Linked DNA regions of Homo sapiens: all the other regions are linked to region 1. The links are contacts of gene promoters, found by promoter capture Hi-C in blood cells and fetal thymus (Javierre and others, 2016). All regions are on one chromosome and are shown on one strand. The core of a region is centred on a gene start or on the middle of the fragment in contact, and the rest is flanking DNA. Distances in the headings are between cores, read along the strand shown. Region 1 holds the start of MYOM1 (myomesin 1). Region 2 overlaps SMCHD1 (structural maintenance of chromosomes flexible hinge domain containing 1). Region 3 overlaps SMCHD1 (structural maintenance of chromosomes flexible hinge domain containing 1). Region 4 overlaps DLGAP1 (DLG associated protein 1). Region 5 overlaps SMCHD1 (structural maintenance of chromosomes flexible hinge domain containing 1). Region 6 overlaps DLGAP1 (DLG associated protein 1). Region 7 overlaps SMCHD1 (structural maintenance of chromosomes flexible hinge domain containing 1).

Region 1 (3,718 bases), core at 670-3,169:
GATGCTTGGGGAACATAACACTTGGAAAACTCGCCTATGGCTTCCAGATAGCTAAAATGTCCACATGCTTACTAATAGCAGAGGTATGTATATGAAGAAATTCCAGGTTGAATTTCACAGGTACCTGGATCAGAACTAGGTGGAACAGATTCTTTTACATACTTTGAGTAGCTCAGAAGCTAACCGTCTATTACAAGTGAAGACCCGTATTGCCATTTCAAAATGTCTAGTTTCTTACTATCAAAGTGCCACTGGAGGAGCCAGCAATACATGACTACAAGTACACGGGCTTTGGAATCAAATGTCTCTGAATGAAGTTGCGTTTCTGTCATCTACCCGCTGTGTGATCTTTGGCAAATGCCTTCCCTTCTGGAAGCTTTGCTTTCCTCAACGGGGTAATGAAGCTGTACCTTGCAAGGTATGATAAGTCAGTGGGATCATGTATATAAACTGCCTATCCCAGTGTCTGGCACTGGATAGGTCCTCAACAGTGTTAACTGTAGTTATCATCAAGAAAGTCATGATGAAGTATACTATAATATTGAGTCTGTTCAATATCTTGATAGAGACTGGGTGCAGTGGCTCACGCCTGTAATTCCAGCACTTTGTGAGACTGAGGCAGGTGGATTACTCGAGTCCAGGAGTTTGAGACCAGCCTGGGCAACATGGTGAAACTCCATTTCTACCAAGAGTTAAAAAAAAAAATTAGCCGAGTGTGATGGCATGCGCCTGTAGCTACTCGGGAGGCTGAGGTGGGAGGATTGCTTGAGCCTGGGAGGCAGAGGTTGCAGTGAGCCAAGACTGCACCACTGCACTCCAGCCTGGGCAACAGAGTGAGACCCTGTCTCAGAAAGAAAAACAATTTTGATAGACACAGGTGACCTTTATTCAGTTGATGTAATATCACTGTCAGAACATAAGGCCAGTAGATCAAAATACCAACCTGCTGCATACATGTAATCTAACAATGAGCTTTTATATTATTGGTATCAGTAATAACAGCTGATATTTACTGAGTCTATATTATGTGACTGTCACTAGGTCAAGTGCTCTGTCTGCAGTATCACATTTAATCACCACAGCAATCCTATAATTTGGATATGATTATCCCCATTTTATAGACAAAAAACCTGAAGCTTAGGAAGGAGAAATAAATTGCTGGAGATTACATGGCTACTAAGTGCTATCAATATAGTGGGATCTAGATCTGGTCTGAATCCACAACACAGGCTCTCACAACCGGGTTACACCTCCTCTTAATTGGTCACACCATTTAAAGAACAAAGAAAGAGAATCTCTTATTAGATGGACTGACCCTACTCTGAGTTAGGAAAGATAAAACACTGAGTTGCGTCTCAAAAGGCTTTAGTTAATGAACAGGAAATCACATATTCAGGCTTGAAGCTAAGACTTAACCTTGTAAATTTTCCTGAAGTGAGAGAAATAGTGACCGTGATGTCAGGCAAAAATCGCCACCACGTGTAACCCATTTCTTCCTTGTTTTGCCTTTAGTTAGCTTCAAGTTCTTTTTTCACATTGTATCTTTTAAATGTACCGTACGTGTGTTGTTAACAGCACACTCAGAATCATATCTTGGCATTAAAATTCCACGAAGTCCATTTTGAGAATCATATTACTACACCTATTTTTAGCTGTTAACACAAACCACTCTTTCCATTACACTTTTAAATTATCTACTGATAAAGTGACATTGAAAATAACTCTTGTTGCCAAATAAAAACCCTATATTTGGTTTAATCGGGCCAGACCCATTGACCGGCATTATGCAATTATATTACTAAGGCTGCTACCTGCCCATGCCCCTCTCCTCCTCCTGGTTTGGAACTACCCTCCCCATCTGCTGCTATATTTATCTGCCTTCTTGGCCATAAAAGGCTGGTTGTGTGGCCTGACATTCGACTGCCTGACCACATGCATTATTTTTGAACTGGCCCCCAGGGTCCTGTCTTTAGCCCTGCCTCTTAACATTGTCTTGGATTCAACCTAGGTGGAGTCTTCATTCTCTCATCCAGCTCCTCGGCCTCATCGGAACATTTCCACCACCATTACTCCTTTGGAAACTGGTAAGTGTGACACTGAGGCAGAAGAATGCACTTGATAGCTTATGAGCTTAGCAGCAGTGCAGTGTAAGTGCTTTCTTTCTGTCTTCTGAACTCAGCAGTTTTCTCAAAGAGATGTCAGAATAACAGAGAAATAGGAAAGTGAAGCTCCAGGGAGGGAAACCAGAACAGCCGGGTGCCAGTCGGGCTGGCACAGCTCTTCTCTCACATCACTGTATTCTTCTGAAATTAAGCTGCTGTTCCTGGAACTGTAAGGAGGTCATATCTGCCTCGGATTGAACTGTAAGCGTGTGTTTAATGCTATTTCCAAGTACGGTTTGGTTGAAATCTGAAATGGATGAGAGACAGGAGGCCCTGCATTTTCAATCCTGCATGTGCCATACAATGCTCCCTGGTTACAAATTAGACCGAAAGAAGGAAAATTAACTCTGAAGTCACTAGTTTATAATTCAGGGATCTTGCTGTGACGATGCAATGTGGATAAATGTGAGCGCGCACAATGATATGGCCTCAAATGGTTAAGTAATATTTCAGAGGCAACATAGAGCCCCACATAGTGATTTTTCTGGGAATCGTTTTCATCAGCTTCTGCCCTCTAATGCCTGCACAAAAGTATCATAAATTACAGCTATGGAATTTGTATTTCTTCCTAAATTCTCAAATTATTTTCAGAAAGAAAATTTAGGTCTTAAAGAAACAAAAGACACTAAAACCATCTTTCCTCCCAACGTACTCCAGCCGTCATGTGTTGGAGCTAATCCTGGCTTTAGTTAACTTCAAGGGCTTACTTGATGAAGAGGAGGTGGTTGTACCTTTGTTCCAGAGGTCAGGGCTGTGACAATCAGCAATGTGGGCTTCAAGTCAAACCCTGTTTACTTGTAACTTACTATCTATGTGAGAGGAATAGTAAGTATTATTAAAAATAAATGTATTTGGGAGAAATAGAAATAAAGAGAGTAAAAAATAGTATTGGGGCAAGATATTTAAAGATTTTATTTTGTGAAAATAACAGCATTTCAAGTCATCTGGGGAATGAATTTAGTTTATAACATAACAAGTTTCTTTATTATTTATTTGAAAAATCATTCAAATAACATGTGCCATGTTACAATGTAGTATCATAACAGAAACTTCTCTAATATCTTTATAACTGCCTAACGTAATTCTGTATTAACATTTTCTAACCCCTTTGTTTTATCAAAATTCATCTAGTAGTTATTAATTATACATGGTAATTATCCTCCATATTTTGTAACAGAAAATAGCCATCTATTTAAGGGTTGAAGCAAAGTTGCTTGCTAGTAGCTATTTTTTTCCCTTAGGAAATGCCCTGTAGACTGATATCTTCCATGAACCCTAAGATAAATATTTCTGGAGTGAAGTTTGCTCAGTTTTCTTCTCTGGGGAATACATGCTGACTTTTAAAATAGTTTAAATAAAAAGTAGTTTTAAACTTGACAAAGAATATGCTGAGTTTAGAAGGATTCATTCTTCATTTTGAATTTTTTTAAAAATGACATTTGGAGAAAACAGATCACTTTAAAACTAATTCTACAGCATTAAAACACTTGGGGGTGGAGCTTTTATAAAACTATTACTTCATCCAGGGTTGTCAACGTGGCTGATAGGCCTGCTTC
Region 2 (3,718 bases), core at 648-3,147, 510 kb after region 1:
GATACCAAAGTCAGACACAGACATCAAAAAAAAAAAAAAGGAAAAAGAAAACTACAGACCAAAATCCCTTATGAATATTGATGCAAAAATTCTCAACAATATGCTAGCAAGCCAAATTCAGCACAATTTTAAAAGAACTCACCTTAGTCTATATAGTGTTGTTGTAAAGGAATACCTGAGGCTGAATAATTTATAAGAAAAGGATGTTTATTTGGTTCACAGTTCTGCTGGCTGGAAGACTGGGCATCTGGTGAAAGCCTCAGGCTGCTTCCACTCATGGTGGAAGGTGAAGGGGAGCCAGTGTATGCAGAGATCATATGGCAAAAGAGGGGTGAGGGAGGTGCCAGGTTCTTTTTAACAACCAGCTCTCATGGGAAATAATAGAGCAAGAACTCACACAATAAGCCCTTCATGAGAGATGTGCACCTATGACTCCAAAACCTCCCATTAGGTCCCACCTCCAACACCGGGGATCAAGACAAACATCCAGGCCGGGCGCGGTGGCTCACGCCTGTAATCCCAGCACTTTGGGAGGCCGAGGCGGGCGGATCACGAGGTCAGGAGATCGAGACCATCCCGGCTAAAACGGTGAAACCCCGTCTCTACTAAAAATACAAAAAATTAGCCGGGCGTAGTGGCGGGCGCCTGTAGTCCCAGCTACTTGGGAGGCTGAGGCAGGAGAATGGCGTGAACCCGGGAGGCGGAGCTTGCAGTGAGCCGAGATCCCGCCACTGCACTCCAGCCTGGGCGACAGAGCGAGACTCCGTCTCAAAAAAAAAAAAAAAAAAAGACAAACATCCAAACTATACATAACAACCAAGTGAGATTTACTCTTGGAATGCAAGCATGGCTCAACAAATAAAAAACAAACAAGGCTACGTGCAGTGGCTCATGCCTGTAATCCTAACACTTTGGGAGACTGAGGCAAGAGGTCATTTGAGGCCATGAGTTTGAGACTAGCCTGGGCAGCATAGGAGACCCTGTCTCCACCACAAAAAAAAAAAAAGGGAGCCATGGTGGCTCAGGGCAGTTGTCCTGGTGCATAAGGAGGTGAGGCTACGCGTTCGAGGCCAACCTCGTCAATATTTTTAAAAAACTCTCATCCATTGATAAAAAGAAAAAAAAAAATTAGCTGGGTGCAATGAGCATGTCTGTAGTCCTAGCTACTCAGGAGGCTGACGTGGGAGGACCACTTGAGCCCAGGAGTTTGAGGCTGCAGTAAGCCACGACTGTGCCGCATCATTCCAGCCTGGGTGACAGAGTGAGAACCCGTCTCAAAAAAAACCCCAAAAAACAAAAAACAACCAATCAACGCAATACATCACTTTGAGAGAATAAACCTACATAATTATCTGGACTGATGCAGAGAAAACATTTGGGAAAACAATACTCTTTCATGATAAAAACACTACACAAGGAATAGAAAGAAACTTCTTCAACATGATAAAGGCCTTATATAAGACCCGCAGTTAACATCGCATGTACTCAACTGTTAAAGACTTAAAAGCTTTTCCTCTAACATCAGGAACAGGACAAGATTCTCATTTTGGTTACTTCTATTCAACATAGTATTTTAAGTCCTAGCCAGACCAATTAGGTAAGAAAAAGAAATAAAAGGCATCCACTTTGGAAAAGAATAAGTTATTTCCGTTCATAAATGACATGTTCATATATGAAAAAACCTAAATAATCCATAAAAAAAACCCTGGTATAGCTAATAAACTCAGCAAAGTTGCAGATACAAAATCATGTTCACGGATTGAATGACTTACAATTGCTAAGGTAAAAATAATACTCAAAGTGATCTGCATATTCAGTGTAATCCCTACCAGGATCGCAATGGTGTTTTCTGCAGAAATAGAAAAACGCATCCTACATTCATAGGGAATCTCCATGGACCCAAATAGCCAAAACAATCTTAAAAAACAAGAATAAAGTTGGAGGACTCACACCTCCTCATTTTAAAACTTACAAAGCTACAGTAAACAAAAACAGTGCAGCATGGGCATATGAACAGACATATAGACCTAGGGAACAGGGAGCCCAGAAATAAATTCTCACATATGTGGTCAACTGACTTTCAACAAGTGGGCCAAAACAATTCAATAGAGAAAGTATAGTCTTTGACAAATGGTGCTGGAAAAACTGGATATCTACAGGCAAAAGAAGTTTTCCATATAAAAAGAAGTTAACCATATGCAAAAGTCAAGGTCAGATGGATCAAAGTAATAACAACAGAGCTAAAGCTATAAAATTTGTAAGGAAAAAACATTCAGGAAAAGCTTCGTAACACTGAATTTAGTAACAATCTCTTGGATAAGACACCAAAAGCACAGCCAACAAAAGAAAAAAGAAACTAATTGTTTGTCAAAATTAAAAAGTTTTGTGCATCACAGTCACCATTGACAAAGTGAAAAAGCAACCCACAGAGTGGAAGAAAATATCTGTAAATCATTTATCTGATAAGGGATTAATATCCAGGATTATAAAGAACTCTTACAACTCAACAACAAAATTTAAAAATGGCCAAAGGACCTGAATAGACCTTTGTCCAAAGAAGATATACAGATGGCAATTAGCCCATAAAAAGATGGCCAAAATCACTGAATATTGGGGAAATGCAAATCAAAACCACAATTATCTTTAGTAGGAAAAAGGGGGGAAAAAACCACAGTAAGATACCACTTCATATCTGTTAGGATGGCTATTATCCGTCCCCCACAAAAAAACCCACAGGAAATAACAAGTGGGGGTGACATGGAGAAACTGGAATGTACAATGAGGCAACCACTGTGGAAAACAGTACGGCAGTTTCTCAATAAATTAAATAATAATATGACCCAGCAAGTCCACTTTTGGGAATGTATCTAAAAGGAACCAAAGCGGAGACTCAAAGAACTATTTGTACACTGATGTTCACAGGAGCATTCTTCACGATAGACAACAGGTGAAAGTAACCTGAGTATCCATCAAACAAATGGATAAACAAAATATGGTGTATGTGTATACATGTGTGTGTGTATATATATATATATATACACATATACACATATATACACACACAAGGGAATATTATTCAACCTTAAGAAGGAATGGGAATTCTGACACACTATGCTAAGCGAAACAGGCCAGACACAAAGGACAAATATAATTCCATTTTTATGAGGTACCTAAAATAGTCAAATTCAGAGACAGAAAGTTAAAAAGTAGTTACCAGGGCAGGGAGAAAGGAGTGATGAAGAGTTATTACTATAGAGTTTCAGTTTGAAATGATGAAAAAATGCTTTACATGGATAGTGGTAATGGTTGCACAACAATATGAATGTACTTAATGCCACTTCATAAATTTCATGTTAATATGTTATATATATATATATATATATATATATATATATATATATATGAAGTTATTGAAAATAGAAGCAGGGACCAGCCTGACCAATATGATGAAACCCCATCAAACCCCATCTCTACTAAAAATACAAAAATTAGCTGGGAGTGGTGGCATGTGCCTGTAATCCCGGCTACTCAGGAGGCTGAGACAGGAGAATTGCTTGAACAGGGGAAGCGGAGGTTGCAGTGAGCCTAAATTGTGCCATTATGTATTCCAGCCTGGGCAACAAGAGCGAAGCTCTGTCTCAAAAAAAAAAAAAGCAGGAAGGTCATGAAAGGTGCTGCACTGCTGGCTTTGAAGATGAAGGAATGAGAGTGGTGCTTC
Region 3 (3,718 bases), core at 778-3,277, 490 kb after region 1:
TTCCAGTACAATTACGTTTACTTTGAAAATGCAAATTTGTTCCAATACAACTATCAGTAAACAATTTAAGCATAAGGCAAATTTTACTTTTGCTTAGGTACAATTTCATCTATGAAAAAACTAGGTCAACATAGAAAACTGTACCCAGCTGAACCAAGTGGGAACACAACAAATGTTGCACCTCAAACACCTATCAGTCACCTCAGTTGACTATGTGTTAATGAGCCACGCTCATCCACAGACTGTTAAAACAACTTTCCCCTCACTTTCAGATAACCTTCCTTCCACCACTTCACAGGAACTCAAAAGCTGCAATCATTGCTTCATCAAGCTAGGTAACCTCCCATATTATTATAGTATTTATGTATTTCTTAACATTTAACATGTATTATCATTATTGTTTTTGCCACTATTTTATTAGGTTCTCTTAACGGGTTACTGAGAAAGTTTGAGTATTGTGCCTCTAGTTTCCATTTTCCCTCATAAGCCCTGTGATTTTTTATTGTACAATTTTGCACAGCAGAGTGATTCTGGAGAATGCATGTGTCTCATTATAGAAGAACAAACTGAACTTTGAAAGAAGCAAGCATAGACTGTCCACTATTCTTTCAGTCAACCATCAAAGGAATGCTAAAAAGCTGTCTACTTTATGTAATAAGACTTAACATTTTGATTTGGCTCCCTGTTCAGTGAGGTGTTAAGTTTCAACATGCAGACTCAACCCTATCAAGGTACAAATGTCATATTTAGATGACAGCAGGTTGATGAGGACCAACAAAACTCTTTTCTAAGGATCATATTTTTAGAGTGGTATACCAATTTCAATAATTTCCAATGGCCAAATAGAGGCTCTGTAGTTAACAACACTGTTTCACTGCTTGCCTTTAACAGATCTTTTGTTTAGTGCTTTCAGAACTGCTACCAATTTATTGCTAGCTTTATCAAGGTGGTGATGTTGATTATGATTGCAGAAAAACAGCTAGTCAGGAAGAGCACAACTAAACAAAATGCCAAAACCTAGATTTTTAAGTGTCAAAATCATTTTTCTAAGTATAATTTTGTCACATATGAATCATTTGCATTTCAACCTATTCCATGAAAAAAGCTTATTCTGCTTACAATTTGAAATGATAGTATAACTTTTCTGTGACAAGCTTCTTTTTTAGATGCTACCCATAAAACGGCTTGTTCAGTCTTACAAACATAAAATTTAAAAAGTTCTTACAAATAACCAATCTGTTAGAGATACTTACTTTAATTTTTTCTGCTAAAGCTGATGTTATATTGATTTCTCTTTCTCCTTCATCATACATTTGAAAAATAAGATTATGCATAATATCACCCGCTATCCAATTAACCTCATCCTGATGTTTGATCTGAATTGCCTTTTGTCCTTCTACACTGAATATTTGTAGTCTTGCAACATGGCTACTGGGAAGCAACTTAATAGTCTTCTCCACAGGTGCCACATCTTTACAACTCTAGAAAGAGAAGAAAACACAAACACTGAGTGATATCTGTACTGAAATTTTACACTCCTGAAGAATTTACTTTCAATATTATGGAAGACCATCTCATACATTGTTATACTCACAGGTTTTGTCATTAAGATGGCATTATACTATTAATAATTCCGTATTTTATACCATCAGGTTATAAATGGCAGTGGCCACATTCTTAAAATAAAAACAATTGTATGTGGACTAAAAGGATTCCCCTCCTTTTTATTTTTTTTGAGACAGAGTCTCACTTTGCCTCCTAGGCTGGAGGGCAGTGGCATGATCTTGGCTCACTGCAACCTCTGCCTTCTGGGTTCAAACTACTCTCCTGCCTCAGCCTCCAGAGTAGCTGGGATTACAGGCGCCTACCACCATGCATGGATAATTTTTGTATTTTCAGCAGAGATGGGTTTCACCACGTTGGCCAGGCTGGTCTCAAACTCCTGACCTCAGGTGATCCACTGGCCTCGGTCTTCCAAAGTGCTGGGATTACAGGCATCAGCCACTGCGCCCGGTCCCTTCCTCTTATTTCCAAGTTTCTTTAAAAGTATTGCCATCTTGTGAAATTTTAATTATGTTACATACTCTGTTAGTATTTATGAATAAGAACAAAGATGTAAGAAATTAAGAACTTTCCATAAAATCAGAGACAAACAGCTACCATAAAATACATTATTTAATGGTAACAGATTACATTAAGGCTTTCAGTATTTTTTCAATTCATAACACATTGGGGTAAGTGATCAAGGTTGTTTATAGCCAGAGAAGGCCTCTAGATGCCCTGAAGACAACTGGTCAACATATTGGCATATTTACAATTTATTATTGGCATACCAGTGTTCTACAGATCAAAGAAAAGACCAAGATTATGCTATATAAATTGATTTTAGGCACACAAAATTAAAATATTACATTATTTCATAATCTAGTTATAGTCCATTCAACAGCACACACTAAATTTAAAATAAGTTTAAACATAAAATACCTTTATAATCTTACTTAACTCATGTCTCCTTCCTCATCCAGTTGCAGCCATTTAACTTATGGAAGCCTATCCACGTGAGTGATATTAAAAATTCCTACCTCATGGAATGTCAGGCACATAACCATCTTCTGTTGTATCTTACTTGCCTTACTCCTAAACTCAGTTATTGCCATTGGATAACATTTTGTAACTGCCTATTAGAGGATTTACGTTGGCATTTGTTTTAACTGACCTGAATTCTTGGTCTTCTCCTGAGTGGTCTGTAGTATTTACAAAAGTCCTAATGCCTGCTGCTCTTGCCTCCAAGTCCAGATTCCTCCCTAATTCATAGTCATCTTTTGCAAGAAAGTGTGCTCAAAAGTATGTTGCCCATATTATTGCATAAAGAAAATGCATAAAAAATACTTTAAGCTTATCAAATATAACAAGCTTAAAAAGAACTGGAATGAAGAGTCATCTCATTCTAATTTAAAAAGTAAAAGACATCTTGTATCCATTTGAGGTTCAAGCTATGTTAATAACTGATGTATAATTAGTAGGAAAGTATGAGTTAATCAACCAATTAGATTATCTATCACCATATCAATTACTAAGAAATCACATTTAAGTATTTTACTTAAGTATCTGTTACCCTACTCAGCAACCTTTGAAGTTTTACTTAAGTATTTGTTATCCCACTCCACAACCTTAGATTGTTTACAGCTCTTGCCTCCATGTTGGCTTTGCTATCAGCCACGATGAATCACCAATAAAAAGCATCCTACTGGCACATGATATAGAAATCCCTTTGTGGGCCAGGCACGGTGGCTCACGCCTGTAATCCCAGCACTTTGGGAGGCCGAGGTGGGTGGATCACGAGCTCAGGAGGTCGAGACCATCCTGGCTAACACGGTGAAACCCCATCTCTACTAAAAATACAAAAAATCAGTCAGGCGTGGTGGCGGGTGCCTGTAGTCCCAGCTACTGGGGAGGCTGAGGCAGGGGAATGGCGTGAACCCAGGAGGCAGAGCTTGCAGTGAGCTGAGATCGTGCCACTGTACTCCAGCCTGGGCAACAGAGCAAGATTCCATCTCAAAAAATATAAATAGAAATAAAAAAAATCCCTTTGTGTAAAAACACAAATAAAAAGCTATGTGTGTATAGAAAATTACATACAAAAATTAAAGGTTTATATGTCCTTCCATGGTGGTTTAAACAGAGATATTTACCAAGCTTTCTAAAACAAATGAGAACG
Region 4 (3,718 bases), core at 563-3,062, 480 kb before region 1:
AAAATACAAAAATTAGCTGCGCGTGGTAGCACAGGCCTGTGATCCCAGCTACTAGGGAGGCTAAGGCAGGAGAATCACTTGAACCCAGGAGGCAGAGGTTGTAGTGAGCCGAGATCGAGCCACTGCACTCCAGCCTGGGCAACAGAGCAAGACTCTGTCTCAAAAATAATAATAATAATAATAATTACTATTATTATTATTATACTGGGATATATGGTCACCTTAGTTAAAATGACATTTTGAGTCTGGAATTGTGTTTAAGTCCTGGGCCCTTGGTGAAACAATATTTTAATGCTCCTTGGGGTCTGATGGTTTGGGCAGAGTAGCCTTTTATGAAGAATTATACTGCGACTAAATCAGTATGATATGTTTAGCTCCATATTTTCCAGCAAATTTTTAAGGGATAAATACAGATAACTCATTGCAACTATAATACTGCACCATACAAGCACAATGCTGTTGACAAGGAGGTATACAGAGCAAAGCAAAACTGCATTCTAACCCCCTGAAGTTTCCTGGAAAAAAAAAAAAAAAGTAGCCTGAAAAGTTGAAAATGTTTCTTTCCACAAAATAAACTGGAATAATCCCTTCATTTATTTTAGAGTCCTTTCAGATAGCCTTGCAGATGGTTCGCTGAAGTCATCATGCCAACAAAATTCGTTTGACTCAAAAATTTAAATAGCCCTACCAAATTATGTGTGTTTCTCTTCTAATAAAAAACTGAATGTCTTATTTCTATCTGCTAAGCTTATTCCACTCTGCAGTTTGTGAACTGAACTACAGAAATAACTCCTTAGAGATGCACACTTTTGTCCTCTATTACCCAATTCTGGAATCCCCAAATATAGTGTTATAAATGCTGACTTTTCTCATTTGCTTTTGCATGTATTCATGTCTTGTCTCTTTACACAAGACTGCTATCCAAAACATCCAAAAGGCATTAAATACTAATATTATGGAATCATAAAGGTGTTCTTTCTTCTTCTAATTGCATGCATTCCTGCCAGTCTCTATGACCACAGCTGAGTGACAGATAAAGCCCAAATTAAAAATACTTCCCTCTTGGCAAGATACCTCCAACCCAGTGGGCTGCTCAGTTGGAAAGCTGGGAAGTGGAGAGGCATGAGTCACTGTGTTCTCTCAGACATTTTAATTCAGAGTTGTTTAAGAAGATTTAAAAAAAAAAATCAAGCAATGGACCCCCAAAATGACCATTTCTCACTAAGTCATGAAATTTAATTTTTTCTTTTTCTTTTTTTTTTAGATGGAGTCTCGCTGTGTCACCCAGGCTGGAGTCTGGAGTGCAGTGGTGCAGTCTCGGCTCACTGCAACCTCTGCCTCCCGGGTTCAAGCGATTCTCCTGCCTCAGCCTCCCGAGTAGCTGGGATTACTGGCGCCTGCCACCACACCAGCTAATTTTTGTATTTTTAGTAGAGACAGGGTTTCACCATGTTGTCCAGGCTGGTCTCGAACTCCTGACCTCAAGTAATCCACCTGCCTCGACCTCCCAAAGTGCTGGGATTACAGGCATGAGCCACCACACCCGGTCAATTTTTTCTTTAATGTGGGAAACAGAATTGCCACCTCTCCCTGCAACACCTGAAAGGAAGCATGGTCTCTAGGCAAAGCCATTCTTGCCAACCTCTGGGGTCCCTGGCATGTGGCACTCAGCCCTTCCCGTGGGCCCCGCAGAGCATCCTCCTAGGGGCTAGGATGTGGAGAAATGCAGTGAGGTGACTCAGCTGCTGTGTCCTTTCTGCTGTCACTGCTGTCTTGTTTTTACATTTTTTAAAGTATCTGTTCTTGGGTGCTTATGGTTTTACAAAGCAGCCCTAATGTTCCCAATGGTATAATTGCCTGATATAGCCATGACTGCTGCTCTGGGAACTGTCAAGATTAGAAGCCCTGCCTGTGAAGGGGAACGTGGGGAGGAATTTGTATCATGTAGGGTGCAGTAATCTCCAAGGAAATTCTCTTCGCAAAAACCGTGTGTGGAAAGTCTCCCTCTGGCGGCTGCTGAGGTGTGTTCATAGGGGAAAGAATGCATGTCAACCGTAAATGGAGTCTGTGAAGCTGCAACTAAAATGTTTCCAGAAAAGAGGGCATTTGGTTGCATCTTCGGGAGGAAAATAAGAAACAATTCTTTTCTAGAATTAAAAAACAAAAACAAAAAACAAAAAAGAACGAAAAGAGAAGAAGAATGCAGAGAATGTGTCCATATCTAGTGAACTTTCAAATATCCCTCCGTCTTCTAAAAAGAAACAAGTGGACAACAGCCACTCGCTCTCCTCTGAACACACATCCTCCTCACACTCCTCCTTCTACAGAGATCAGGGCCACTGCACTTTCGTGCTTGAAGCAGTTCTGGGAATTTCTGTCCTCTATTTTCTGTGTCTGTCTAGTTCACTACCAGTCTCATTTATTTGTCCTTTATAGTATTTCTTTATGATACTTCTCATGTTTTCTTGCCCTTCCTATTAATTTCTCCAGCCTATGCATGGACAACTGCCCAGTGGCATTTGGAGTAAATGCAATAAAATTCAGAGCACGTGAATCAAAGGCTCTCAGTTGGCAAGTTCAGGTCTTTTGTCAGGACAGCGCCACATTCCATCCCAAGGACCAGCTATATCCGGTGATCCTGAGACACAATCTTGACACCACTTCAAAGATTCTGGAATTTGGAATTCAGGACCTCTAGTGCCATCATGTGCCTGGGTCCCCATCCTCCTTCCTAACCCTTGTTTTCCCTGAATGGCCTCATGACCTGTTGGCACCATCAGGCTCCACATCTTAACCAGCTCTGGGCTGATCCTGCCTTCACAGAATTGAGAACACTCCAGAGACCCTTGCTTGCCTTTGTCCTAGCAAGTAAGCTTTCATGTCAATTTCTAAGACAAAGTCTCCATCTTATACTCCTTTCTGGGACTTGGATCCCTGTCCTCTCTCTTCTCCCTCTGTCCCTTACTGCTTCCTGGATGAACTGCCTGTACCTGAGTGGCTGCAGGAGCGAGCCTGTCATTCTCCTCAACCCCACTGGTAAGGGGCCTGCCACTGGGCTGCCCTGACTTTTCAGTTGTTACTTATTCCTCATCCAGCAGCTGTCTCCTTCCAGATCTGAGCCCTCTGGCTCCCCACAGAGATTTACTTAAAGTCTTCCAGCTGTGTGATTTGCTAAGATGCCAGCTACCTTGTTGTATCTGATTACTTCTAAGATGATACATATAGGATCCCATAGCCTGCCTCGCTCCCCTGTCTCTCAAACCCAGGGAAGGGTCTAGGAAGAAGCCCAGGATCCTAGGGCGCCTGCATGCAGGAAGTCCACAACCCTGCCAGGCTCTCCCCTAGGGGTCTGTTGCTGCCTCTCTTGGGAACTTGTCTATTGCCATCCCATAGAAAGGTAGCAATTTATGCCTTCCTGGTTTTGATAACATTTCCCAAACATGTTTACTCCTGTGAAGCATATCCAATTGAGCACCATGAAGCACACCTGCTATTTTAAAATTCAAGGTAGACGTCAGGAGCGGCTTACGCCTGTAATCCCAGCACTTTGGGAAGCCGAGGTGGGCGGATCACCTGAGGTCAGGAGTTCGAGACCAACCTAGCCAACATGGTGAAACTTCATGCCGGGCGTGGTGGCAGACGCCTGTAATCCCAGCTACTTGGGAGGCTGAGGCAGGAGAATCGCTTGAACCCGGGAGGCAAAGGTTGCATTGAGCCG
Region 5 (3,718 bases), core at 893-3,392, 470 kb after region 1:
GTCTACATGAGTGTGTGCATGGCATGCACAACAGGAAGGAAGACGGTAATAACTGGAAGAGGTAAGGGGTGGAGCTTCCATGATTGGTCCTTTACCAATTAGTCTGAAAAAGCACTGAACAAATATAATGAGCATTTTGACCCTATTGATGATAAAGGATTTGTAAAGAAACTTAACACATAATGTTTTTAGATTTGAAAATGGAGGTCCAGAATGAAGCAGCAACATGCTCAAAGTCACAGAAATGTTAAAAGCCAGTCTAATCTTTATAGAAACCTCCTATATAATAAGAAGTTATAAAGTGCCCTGACAACATAAAAGAATTCTTCTGATGGCTTCGATAGTTTCAAAAGCAAATACAATTACAATTTACAAAGCTTAAAACCAATTTAATGCTTAAAAACGAAAACACACCTTTTCCCAAAAAACTGAGAAAAATTTAGAGACACTAACATTTCTATTTGATCATAAATTACTTTTCCTCAGGTGAGCCCACATATATCTCCAGGGTTGAATTACTTTGTAACAAGATATGTATTCAAAATATGAAATGTTTTGAGAAATACCTGAAATAGAAGCAGCCATCTTCTTTGTCATTATCTTTTATTTTATTACAACTAAATGTTTCTGCCTAGAAAGGGGAGTAGGAGAGAAGGGGAGAGGGGAAAATGACAAAATTTAACATAGTATACTTAGGAGGAAAGCTTATTATATACCTAAACTGAATGTGTATCTGGATTCCATTTATAAACATACAGGTATATATACACACGTTTATATCTTCATAATACATGTAAGGTACAATGTGAGATTAGTGACAGTGGAAAGACACCCCATTATTAAAAGACACACAGTAGAACTTTATGGTGATATTATTTAAAGATAATACCAACTTGATTGGACTGATGGTCTAAATTAAGCAAGCAAAGATTCAGGATTAATTAAGCAAGATAGTTTCCAAAACCAATGATTAAAATGAACCATAAATGTTGAAGTAGATTATTATATCAGGACACTGATAAACTTTAGTTCCCAATTTTAGATTTATTTCAGATCTGCATTATCCAATATGGTAGCCAATGGCTATGTGTGACTACTGGGCACTTGAAATGTGGCTGGTCTGAACTGATATACAGTGTAAAATAAACACCAAATTTCATAGACTTGGTAAGATAAAAGAACGTAAAATCCTAGCAATAATTTTTAAACTATTGAATATATGTTGAAATGGTAACTTTTGATATATTAGGTTAAAAACATTAGAATTTTACTTATTTCTTTTTAGCTTTTAAATGTAGCTACTAGAAAGCAGAAACACCAGGTATGATCTTTCCACTGGACAGCACTGTTCTAGACCCTCTAACTCTCCACTCTCTTTCAAGCAGTCTATCAATCCTATCTCTTTACTATCTCATTTTCTATATTATCCCCTCATATTTAATAGCTTCTGCCTTGTGCTACTGTCCTTCAGATGAAATAATTTTAATGTGTAGGCATCTTAAAATGTTAAGAAACATCACAATGTAGACTACTCTTTTTCAATAGCATCAATCTTTAATTTTGAAACATACATTGATGTAATTTCTTTAACCCCAAAGGAATGAAGTAAATTCACTTCCATTTCTCAAATTTATATAACATTATATATTTACATTAAAGGAGACTTAGTTTTAAGTTAAATGTAAGAACTATTTTTAACTTCAAAAAATGCTTCCCATGACTCACATTTGCTGGGGGTCGGTTCCCACTGGTAGACAGCTTCCACATTTTCATGGAAATACGTGCTGGATTAATGTTTTTAATGATACTGTCATCTTCAGAAATAACACTAATCATAAAATCTGTCATGGTAAACGTTAAAAAATTATCTCTTTCTAGTTCAATTAATGGATATGGTTAAATAATTGTATGCCTTAAAGCAAACATCTTATTTAAATGTTTAAAGCACACGTTATTTAAATGTTAATACAATTCTGATGAAGAAATGTATAAATTCTAGCATACAAGACCAAAAAGACTAGAATGTATACTCAGCAACTTAAGAGTTAGGCCAATTGGTCATAGCACCATATGCTTTATGTATTCCAAGAACAGAATATTTACTTTCTTGTATGATTTTCGATAGCATATAATAGCCAAAAGATCAATATATATAATATTCCCATTATATTTACCACCTGTAACATTCATTTGGCACCTGTTACTAATTTTTTAATCACAGGAAATAGATCTCCCTGAAATAGATTTAAAACTTTATATACGGTATAGTCTACTTTATAGGGTAAAAAAAGCTATGTATACATGTAACTTGATTATTAAAAATTATTGTCAACAATTTTTAAATCTAAACTTTGAGGTGCTTCATTCACTACTTAAAACTATGTATAGGGATTCATCCTTTTAAGAAAACAGAAGTCTTCCAGAAAATTATTTGTGTAAAACAAAAACTAATTTCCTATTGACTTAACATCTGCAACATGATATTGAAATCATTTGCTTCCCTGTCTCCTACATTAGACTGAGCACACTTAACCTAGGATAAGTAATTTATTCCACTAATGTACAAAGCAAATTATCATTATAGATTTATTTATGTATGTGAAATACTCACCAGTGAAAAGACCCCCTGCTAAGAAGGATGCATCTTTGTCATATTTAACATTGAGACGAACGGGTTTTTCTGGGTCTGGAAGAATCATTAACTTAATTATAGGTCCTTCTATGATACTTTTGTTATAGATGGCTTTAACCTGAAGAGTATGCTCTCCCCTAACAAAACAAAAGAGGAGAGGGGTTCAAATTACATTAGTTAATAACCTAAAAATTCTGAGACAATTTATGCAAAGTTCAACTCTTAGAAAAACCTCTCAACTTCTATTCAGTCCCAACTCTTGCCTAACATTAAACAGAAGGATAGTCATTAGCTGTAACTTCGGCAAGCAGTAAGAAAAACGAATCTCTATAACACCAACAACTATCAAACTTTTGGTTCTTACCTAGGGGCAAAAACACTGAATACTCCCAAATTAGCCCTGCCTTTCTCATCTGTTTTATGCTGTTGGTTTGAAGGCATGAGCTAAAAACAAAACAAAACAAAATGGTTAATTAGAAAATTCTAGAGATCAATCAAGTTCTTTTCTTCCATTACAATGTTCTTTCCCTCTATTCCTATTTTAAAAGCAGTATTTGCATACTTCTAAAATCTAAATTTTAAAAATCTGAACTAGTTGGAATAATGTAGTATGTAATGATATAATCCAAAGTAGAATAACAATCACTCATCTTGATCAATTTCACTAGAATTTAATGTATTTCAGTTACTAAGTTGCAGATTTCTAGTTCACTGTTTCAATATCACTGATAGATCAAATGAAGTTTGTTTACACAAACACAGAAGGTATATTCTAAAGCTGGGGCAGGTATAGGGGACTGCACTGGAGAAATATATACTGTACACACATACTCAAGTCAAAGCATCATAGCACTATCTTCATTCTTCATTTTTCTCTTGAAAGTCTACTCAGATACACTTCTCAAATTTTTGCTGCAATACTACATTCACAGTGATAACCAAGCTTTCACTTTCAAGAGATTAAGAATCAGTGGCCACATTTCCTAATAACTGGTCTAGAAGGGTCTCTCAGCCTTTTACAGATGGTTCTCCAGAAACTAGAATCATATCTTTATTCTGGGGTTGAAAGTAATCATTGTCTAACTC
Region 6 (3,718 bases), core at 572-3,071, 450 kb before region 1:
AGCTTTGGGAAGCCAAAGCAGGAGGATCACTTGAGGTCAGGAGTACCAGCCTGGACAACACAGTGAGACCTCATCTCTAAAACAAAACAAAAAAATTTAAAAATAAGAAAATTAGCAGGGTGTAGTGGTGGGCGCCTGTAGTTGCAGCTACTACGGAGGCTGAGGCAGGAGGCTCCCTTGAGCCTAGGAGTTCAAGATTGCAGTGAGCTATGATTGCACCACTGCACTGCAGCTTGAATGACACAGCAAGACCCTATCTCTAAAACAAATTTAAAAATTGTTTAAAAAAAAACTTTTTAAATTGACAGATTAGAATCTGATCAGTTTCTTTCCAGAGCTACTTGAACATCTCAGGAGATTCTGCTAAGGATGGAAAAGGAAGGAGTTTTAATTTCAAAGTTTCATTCCATGTCTTGTCAAACCAAGTCTAGATTTGCCATTTAGAACTGCATTCTCTGATCCTGTGTTTTAAGAGAGGTTTCTCCATGTAGATGAAACCAGGAGCTGCATCCTTCCTCGGATTGGTAGGTGTTCCATGGGCTTTATCTGTGCGGCGTAATGACAGCACACAAACGCCAGGGGGCAATGCAGTTTCACCGAAGAATCCTAGGAAACTCGGGTCTGGCTTTGACTAAGAACATTGGCAGGATCCTGGGGCAAAGGTGGAAATCCTTACTAAAAAGAGTTCCGCCAAGGAAAAAATATGTTTAAAAATCCTTTCTTTGAAAGCTTCCTGCATTGTCATCAAAATTGCCCTTCAGTATTTGTGCACAGCTGGAAGTTTTGTGATATTATTTGCAAAAGATTTACTTTTCGTTTTTTCTCAATGCGGCTGCCTAGTCTTTCCTGGAAGGTTTCCTGGGTCTTTCTGCGTAGGAAGGATTATTCTAACCAGCTCTCGGGTAGCCTGGATCACATTGTTAGGACTCTGTTGCGTCCTCTGCCTGACCGCGGGGCTCTCTTCCCCCGGTGCCCATTCAGCGCTTCCAGCTGCCTCTGCGGTTGGAGCCGGGCTCCCTTTAAGGTAATTCCAGTCTGGGCCTGTGTTTTGTTTCCAGCTCGGCAGCCGCCAGGTGTCTGCCCTCCCTTAACCTCCAAGGATGAGAGATCAAAGGTGCCCCTACATCTGCCTCCTGCCCAGCTCTTTAATCTGTTACATGTTCAAAAGGGACAAATGCAGTATTGTGCACTCAGGGAGGGAGGACAAATCAGAGAAGTGGAAATGGGCAGAGCCTCAGAATGTGTTAACTTACATAAATGATACGGAATATGCCTGTCGACATATTAGCCCTGCCACTGTAGAGGTGTTTTCTTCTTAAAAGAGCAAGAATATTATGCAGAAATGGAAATCCTCTTTTCTCCCTTTGGAAGCCTACTAAACCCATTTAATGAAATATCGTACACAGACCCATTTGGAGGTCACTATTAGAAATATAACGAGGTAAAACAAAATATTTTTTAAATTTATGAAATGGAAATTACAAGGGCACTTGTAGAGACCTGAGCTTATTTTATATGTGGCAAAAATGATAAACTAATCTTTAAGCAGAGCAGATATATTTTAAGAAAGACTATTCCCAGCGGAGCATGTATTTTCCATATCCGTAGAGCTAAGTAGGGGAATGCATTTTAAAACAGTAGGAATTCAGATTAGGTATTAAGAAAATAATACTGAGAGCAATGGTTATGGAAGGTACAGAATTTTCCTAACAGCACTAAGGAAGCAGCAATTATTTCTTCCATTTTTAGAGGAAGGGGTTGGGGGGAGGGGGAAGAGCTCCTGATCTAGTAACAAATTGTTTCTAAACTTAAATTTAGAAACATTTTAAACAGTTTGAGCATCCACGATTTTCTTTAGACTTTTAGGAGAGCTCCCTAATTTCCAACTAAAGACATAAATGTGAACAGGCACTAATTACTTTTTTCTCTATGCATTCCTGCGCCCACACACCCAGAGGCTCTCTTGTGCTTCCTCTTCCCCAGCGGTTACAAAAAGGAACTCCAGCAACTTCAGTTGTGCTTAGCTGCCGTCACAGACAATAGCATAGTAGGACCAGTGGCCTCATATTAAGTCACAGTCTTTCCCAGTTACAATGGCTGAGAACCCAGATTTTCACAAGGTGCAAAGAAAAGAATATTGACATGGTTATTAAAAGCTATGGTGAGAAGGGAGTCTTTATCAGCTGCTTCAAATATTTCATTCACCTTCTTAACAAATATTTATTCTGCACTTACTATGTCCAGACATGGTGCTGAACTCGGGGAATTCACTGGTGATCAAAAGCAGTCTTACCCTTTGTTCTCATGGAGTTTACCATCTAGGGGTAGAGACTAGCGTCAATCAAATAATCACAGAGATAACTGCGCTGAAAGAAAGAGACAGTTCTTGTGGGAGGATCTATTGTAACAAAGGGACTAATCTAGAGGCTCAGGGAGAACTTCCCTGAGAAAATCCTCATTAGCTAAGAGTCAAAGGATCAAGAAGGGTGAGGGATGGCACGTGCTAATTCTGCATTCAATATTAGTAGAACTGAAAGGGTGATGTGGCTGGAGTACCAAGAGCTAAGGGACAGGGCACATGTGTAGTCAGAAAATGTATGCACAGCTGACTATGTCTGTCATCTGTTGCTACATACCTTATTACCCCAATGTGGAGCAGCTGAAAAACAATCATTATATTATACCTTATGATTTTGAATCAGGAATTTAGGCAGGGTTCAGCTGGGCAATTCTTCTGTTCCACATTCAGCTAGAAGTTGGTGTATTAGTCAGAGTTCTCCAGAGAAGTAGTATATCCGTGTGTGTGTGTGTGTGTGGGTGTGTGTGTGTGTGTGTGTGTGTGTGTGTGTGTATACTGACCCATAATTATGGAGGCTGAGAAGTCCCAAGATCTGCAGTCAGCAAGCAAGCTTGAAACCCAGGAGAGCCAATGGTATAGTTCCAATCTGGGTCCAAAGACCTGAGAACATGGAGAACAATTGTGTAAGTTCCAGTTCAAGTCGAAGTCCAAAGGGAAGAGAAGACTGATGTCCCAGCAGAGACAGAGAATTCTCTCTTACTTTGTCTTTTTGTTCTATTCAGGACTTCAACTCATTGGACAAGACCCACCCACCTTAGGAAGGGAAGTCTGCTGTACTCAATGAACTGATCCAAATGTTAATCTCATCCAGAAACACCTTCACACACACTCGAAATAATGTTTGTTCAAATCTCTGGGCACCTCATGGCCCAGTCAAGTTGACACACAAACTAACCATCACAGTTGGGCTGGTCTTGAGAGTCCAAGACAGCATTATTCACATGCCTGGCACCTTCATTTCAATGGCTGGGAGTGTGGGCTCCTGATCAGTAGCAATATGGTAACTGTTGACTAGAGCACCTGTAATTGGCACCTCCAGCCTTGCGGCTTCAAGACTCCTTACATGTCAGTTCAGGGCTTCCAGAGACAGTTCCTATACAAGAGATAGGAAATCTTAAGGTCTTAAGGTCTGAGCCCAGATACTGGCAGAGCATCTTTTCCTTCATATTCTTGGTGACGGCCAAAGCAGTCCACAAGCCCACTCAGACCAAAGGGAATAACGAAGATGCCACTTCTCAATAGGAAGAGTTTCAAATAATCTGTGGTCATCGTTAGTCATCCATGCTTCAGCCTCTGGACACAAATTATTCACATCTTCTGTAAGGCAAAATATACTCACCCCTTCTAAAGACTTCAAAA
Region 7 (3,718 bases), core at 419-2,918, 420 kb after region 1:
GAATTTTATTCATCCCTAGGAAATCCTCTTCCACATGATAGCATTTCCTTCTCCATTTTCTTCTTTCTAGATTCCTAATAGTCTGAATTGGTTCTCTATGTCTTCTATCTCTTTTTGTATTGGGGAAGTTTTCTTTTTGGACTTTAATCCTCCTATTGAACATTTTTATTTCAGCAACAATATTTGTAATCTGTTTATTCATTCTTGTCCTGGCTCCTTTCTGCTACATAGTAATTATAATTTTATAAAAGAGGTCTAGTCTCTTTACTAAATTGTCCTCCATGTTGATTTTGGAACTTAATCTTGAATTTTGTCTCTCACGTTGCTGGCTACCCTCATATGTGTGATGACTGTTAGTTGTACAATTACATTTAAGAAAGAGGATTACATTGCTAGCTGGAATTTCTTCTACTATTATAAAAATAGAACTGTTTTACCAACAAGTCTCTTCTCCGAGTGGGACTTGATGGTAACTATAACTGGGATAGGGCAAATCAACGTCATGGGTCCACAGGTTTTGCTTTAAACATGTGGATGTTGGGCCGAGCATGGTGACTCAGGCCTGTAATCTCAGTACTTTGGGAGGCCGCGGCAGGAGAGTAGCTTAAGCCCAGGAGCTTGAGACCAGCCTGGTCAACACAGCAAGACCCCATCTCTACAAAATAAATAAAGTAAAAATTGTTGAATTAAAATCAAAATAGATAAATGTGCAGGTGCAGAGCCAGTTATCAGCCTTTTAGTTCCCAGAGGCCAGCATTAGGTCCTAGTGTGCCAGCAACTACCAAAAGCCAATATACCAACATTTAATTCATTTCCATTGTTATCTAACTTTGTAGTGGCATCTTTTCATGCCTGTTGACAAGGAAACAAAGCTTTCAAAGTTTGGGTTGAAAATCTGGTACATTCTAGGCTGTGGCTTCCTTTCCTTTTCCATTCTGTTCCGTCCTTTTTATTTGCCACTCTCCCTGTTTGGGAGACAGGACTCCCAAACAGGGAGAGTTGCTGGACTTCTCACTCTTTTGTTCTAACTGACTCTGAATCCAAAGTGTTTCTGGGGCTAAATCAGGCAGACTGTCTCCTATTATTTCTAGACTATTTCCCAATCCCTTCACCTCTAGTATATTCTAGCCTTGTTTCTATCCTGTTATCTCCAGAAAACCTCAATCAAACGTGAACGCAAAATGAAGACATTTTTCGGACATAGAAGGGCTCCAAGTTATCTTTCTACACATTTTTTCTAAGGAATTTATAAGAGAGAGAAAGACATGGAATCCAATAAATAATGGATATAATCCAAGAGAGTAACTAAGGAAGACCCAGGATGGCAGATTTACAGGAGGCCTGCACAGTTACTAGTCACTGGTACAGGAGGAAGAAGATGTGATTAAGATACATAGGGAAAGAAAAAAAAAGGTGGCAATTAAAAACTCCAGAAAAATTAACAAGAAAGAGTCTTAGTAACAATTGGAATAACACTTCACGTGATTTTAAGAATAACAGAGTAAGGAAGATTTATTTGAGCCTGATGTTTGGAGCACTAACTGGTGGCCTAAGTAAGAGTCATGACATTAGACCCATATAGAGAAGGAAGTGTAATTCTAGCACACAAGTTTGCTTAGTACAATATTTGCCTGAACAATATTTACATAGTCATAATAATGTAACTTTTAAAAGTGGAGGCAACAATAGAGTAACTAAAAATTAACAGTTAAAACAAAGGTTGCCTCTGAAGGATGGAATAGGGGTAAGGATGCATAGGATACAAGATTTTACGATCATCAGCTCTTTCTATACCTGTGCAGTCCAAAACGGTAGCCACCAGCCATGTGTGTGGCTCCAGAGTACTTGCAACGTAGCTAGTCCTAATTGAGATTTGCTGTCTTCTGAATTGTGAAGACTTTGTATTTAAAAAAAAAGAATGTAAAATAGCTCATTAATCATTTTTAACGTTGTTTACATGTAGAAATATTTTGGATATTGGGTTCAATAATATCTATTATTAAAATTAATCTCACTGTTCCTTTTTTCCTTTTTAATATGGCTTCTAGAGAATTTAAAATTATATATGTGACTCACGTATAGTACAACACTGTAAATCTATACCATTTGATATATACACATATGACCGATGATCATTATACTACTAACAATATTATAAACTAAAACATAAACTCCCTCTGAATTGCTACAAAATCTTAATTAACAAGTTCCAAATCAATGTCCACAGTAGCGCTGTAGTAACTGGAAGGTCTAGGGCAAATTTAGTGCTGAGACTGTGGCACAAAAACATGTACCTTACATCTTAGCCTAGAACTGCACCTTGAGGAATTTCCTTAGTGGGAAGTGGGTTCTGGTCTCTCTAAAAAATAATCCCACTGTTCATAAAATACTTCTTTAAAAAATTATGGCAAACCTATATAAAAGCAGAGGGAATAATACAGTGAATTTCCTATTTCAAGCTTTAGTAATGAAAACATTTTGCCAAGTCTTATTTTGATATCCTCTGCCACTTTATTTTCCTGGAGTATTTTAGAGTATATCCCAGACACCATATTATTTAACCAATATAAGAACTTTCTACAAAGAATAACTTTTACAAAGAAGAACTTTCTGTAACTATTTGGAAACCTGGAAGATAGTTCATACACATGTCTTTTCTATATAAATACATAAATTTTCACAGTCACAAGCAGGTGCCCTACCAACCAGCAATGATGACCAATAAGGGATTTTTGCGTCATTTTGAACTCATAATTTCTAAAAGTTACATGTCTAAATCCACTGCAAAGAGTCTTTCTTTCTGATGCTAAACTGCCCCAACACACTTTGAATGATCAGCTTAATAGTCTGTATACACCTCATGCCCATGAACACATCATTCACATGCCTACATGTGTGATACTCAAGAGATATCAATGAACTTAAAATAGATTTTTTTTGCAACATGATGAGGGAGGAGTTTCATAATCTGGCCTCTGCCTCTATGTCCGACAATAGTTTGGTCCTCTCCCTCTTGCATACCATACCATGCCTTAGACACTAACATCTTTTCAGTTCCTCAAACATGCCACACCTGTTATTTTCTTAGAGCATCATGCCTCCTTCCCAACCTCTGACTGAAACCAATCCCTATATGGCTGGTTCCTTCCCATCCTTCAGTTCTCTGTTTCAATGCATCTCTCCAGACAACTGATATTGTTTCCCTATTATTTTCTATTACTTCATCATTTTTTCATTCCCTATTTTCTTTCTTTTTTTTTGAGACGGAGTTATGCTCTTGTTGCCCGGACTGGAGTGCAATGGTGCGATCTCAGCTCACTGCAACCTCCGCTTCTTGGGTTCAAGCAATTCTCCTGCCTCAGCCTCCCGAGTAGCTGGGATTACAGGCGTGCGCCACCATGACTGGCTTATTTTTAGTAGAGACAGGGTTTTGCCATGTTGGCCAGGCTGGTCTCCAACTCCTGATCTCAGGTGATCCACCTGCCTCGGCCTCCCAAAGTGCTGGGATTATAGGCATAAGCCACTGTAATTCCTTACAAATAGAAAAAAGTTTACTTTTTAAATTGTCCCTCTACTGCATAGAATTACAGAATTCCAATGGAGGCAAGAACCATGTCAGTTTTATTCACCCAGCAACATACAACACAGAGTGAGATTTCAAATCTTTACTGAATAAATGTAGAATACGCAGATGAATATGGCAAAGAATACCAATTCC

Evidence for each region. Contacts are between HindIII fragments. The CHiCAGO score rates a contact against its expected background, and 5 or more counts as called.
Region 2: a contact is called between a fragment that was not itself captured here and the fragment with the promoter of MYOM1 in region 1, in 1 of 17 cell types (megakaryocytes). The highest score is 5.4, in megakaryocytes.
Region 3: a contact is called between a fragment that was not itself captured here and the fragment with the promoter of MYOM1 in region 1, in 3 of 17 cell types (megakaryocytes, activated CD4 T cells and M0 macrophages). The highest score is 7.4, in megakaryocytes.
Region 4: a contact is called between a fragment that was not itself captured here and the fragment with the promoter of MYOM1 in region 1, in 1 of 17 cell types (neutrophils). The highest score is 5.6, in neutrophils.
Region 5: a contact is called between a fragment that was not itself captured here and the fragment with the promoter of MYOM1 in region 1, in 1 of 17 cell types (megakaryocytes). The highest score is 7.7, in megakaryocytes.
Region 6: a contact is called between a fragment that was not itself captured here and the fragment with the promoter of MYOM1 in region 1, in 4 of 17 cell types (naive CD4 T cells, non-activated CD4 T cells, total CD4 T cells and 1 more). The highest score is 6.3, in naive CD4 T cells.
Region 7: a fragment that was not itself captured here is called in contact with the fragment with the promoter of MYOM1 in region 1 in 2 of 17 cell types (activated CD4 T cells and naive CD4 T cells); the score reaches 6.1 in activated CD4 T cells.

The regions. Positions count from the first base shown.
Region 1 is chr18:3,218,169-3,221,886 of GRCh38, reverse strand. MYOM1 (myomesin 1) reads left to right here and starts at 1,919. Exons shown (of 38, transcript NM_003803.4): 1 at 1,919-2,084. RefSeq lists a silencer at 3,622-3,718. The HindIII fragment of the contact is 10,525 bases long and covers 1,139-3,718 here.
Region 2 is chr18:2,708,553-2,712,270 of GRCh38, reverse strand. All of the region lies in intron 17 of SMCHD1 (structural maintenance of chromosomes flexible hinge domain containing 1), which reads right to left. Among named protein-coding and RNA genes, the nearest start is that of SMCHD1, 55 kb to the right of the region's middle. The HindIII fragment of the contact is 775 bases long and covers 1,510-2,284 here.
Region 3 is chr18:2,730,028-2,733,745 of GRCh38, reverse strand. It overlaps SMCHD1 (structural maintenance of chromosomes flexible hinge domain containing 1), which reads right to left. Exons shown (of 48, transcript NM_015295.3): 25 at 1,254-1,481. Among named protein-coding and RNA genes, the nearest start is that of SMCHD1, 76 kb to the right of the region's middle. The HindIII fragment of the contact is 1,741 bases long and covers 1,157-2,897 here.
Region 4 is chr18:3,702,120-3,705,837 of GRCh38, reverse strand. The region is part of intron 7 of DLGAP1 (DLG associated protein 1); the gene reads left to right. Among named protein-coding and RNA genes, the nearest start is that of DLGAP1-AS6, 51 kb to the right of the region's middle. The HindIII fragment of the contact is 2,126 bases long and covers 750-2,875 here.
Region 5 is chr18:2,749,401-2,753,118 of GRCh38, reverse strand. SMCHD1 (structural maintenance of chromosomes flexible hinge domain containing 1) reads right to left here. Exons shown (of 48, transcript NM_015295.3): 31 at 2,997-3,076; 32 at 2,612-2,769; 33 at 1,726-1,841; 34 at 567-631. Among named protein-coding and RNA genes, the nearest start is that of SMCHD1, 96 kb to the right of the region's middle. The HindIII fragment of the contact is 2,871 bases long and covers 707-3,577 here.
Region 6 is chr18:3,663,317-3,667,034 of GRCh38, reverse strand. The region is part of intron 7 of DLGAP1 (DLG associated protein 1); the gene reads left to right. Among named protein-coding and RNA genes, the nearest start is that of DLGAP1-AS6, 12 kb to the right of the region's middle. RefSeq lists a silencer at 972-1,266. The HindIII fragment of the contact is 2,180 bases long and covers 732-2,911 here.
Region 7 is chr18:2,797,460-2,801,177 of GRCh38, reverse strand. The region is part of intron 47 of SMCHD1 (structural maintenance of chromosomes flexible hinge domain containing 1); the gene reads right to left. Among named protein-coding and RNA genes, the nearest start is that of EMILIN2, 48 kb to the left of the region's middle. The HindIII fragment of the contact is 1,587 bases long and covers 875-2,461 here.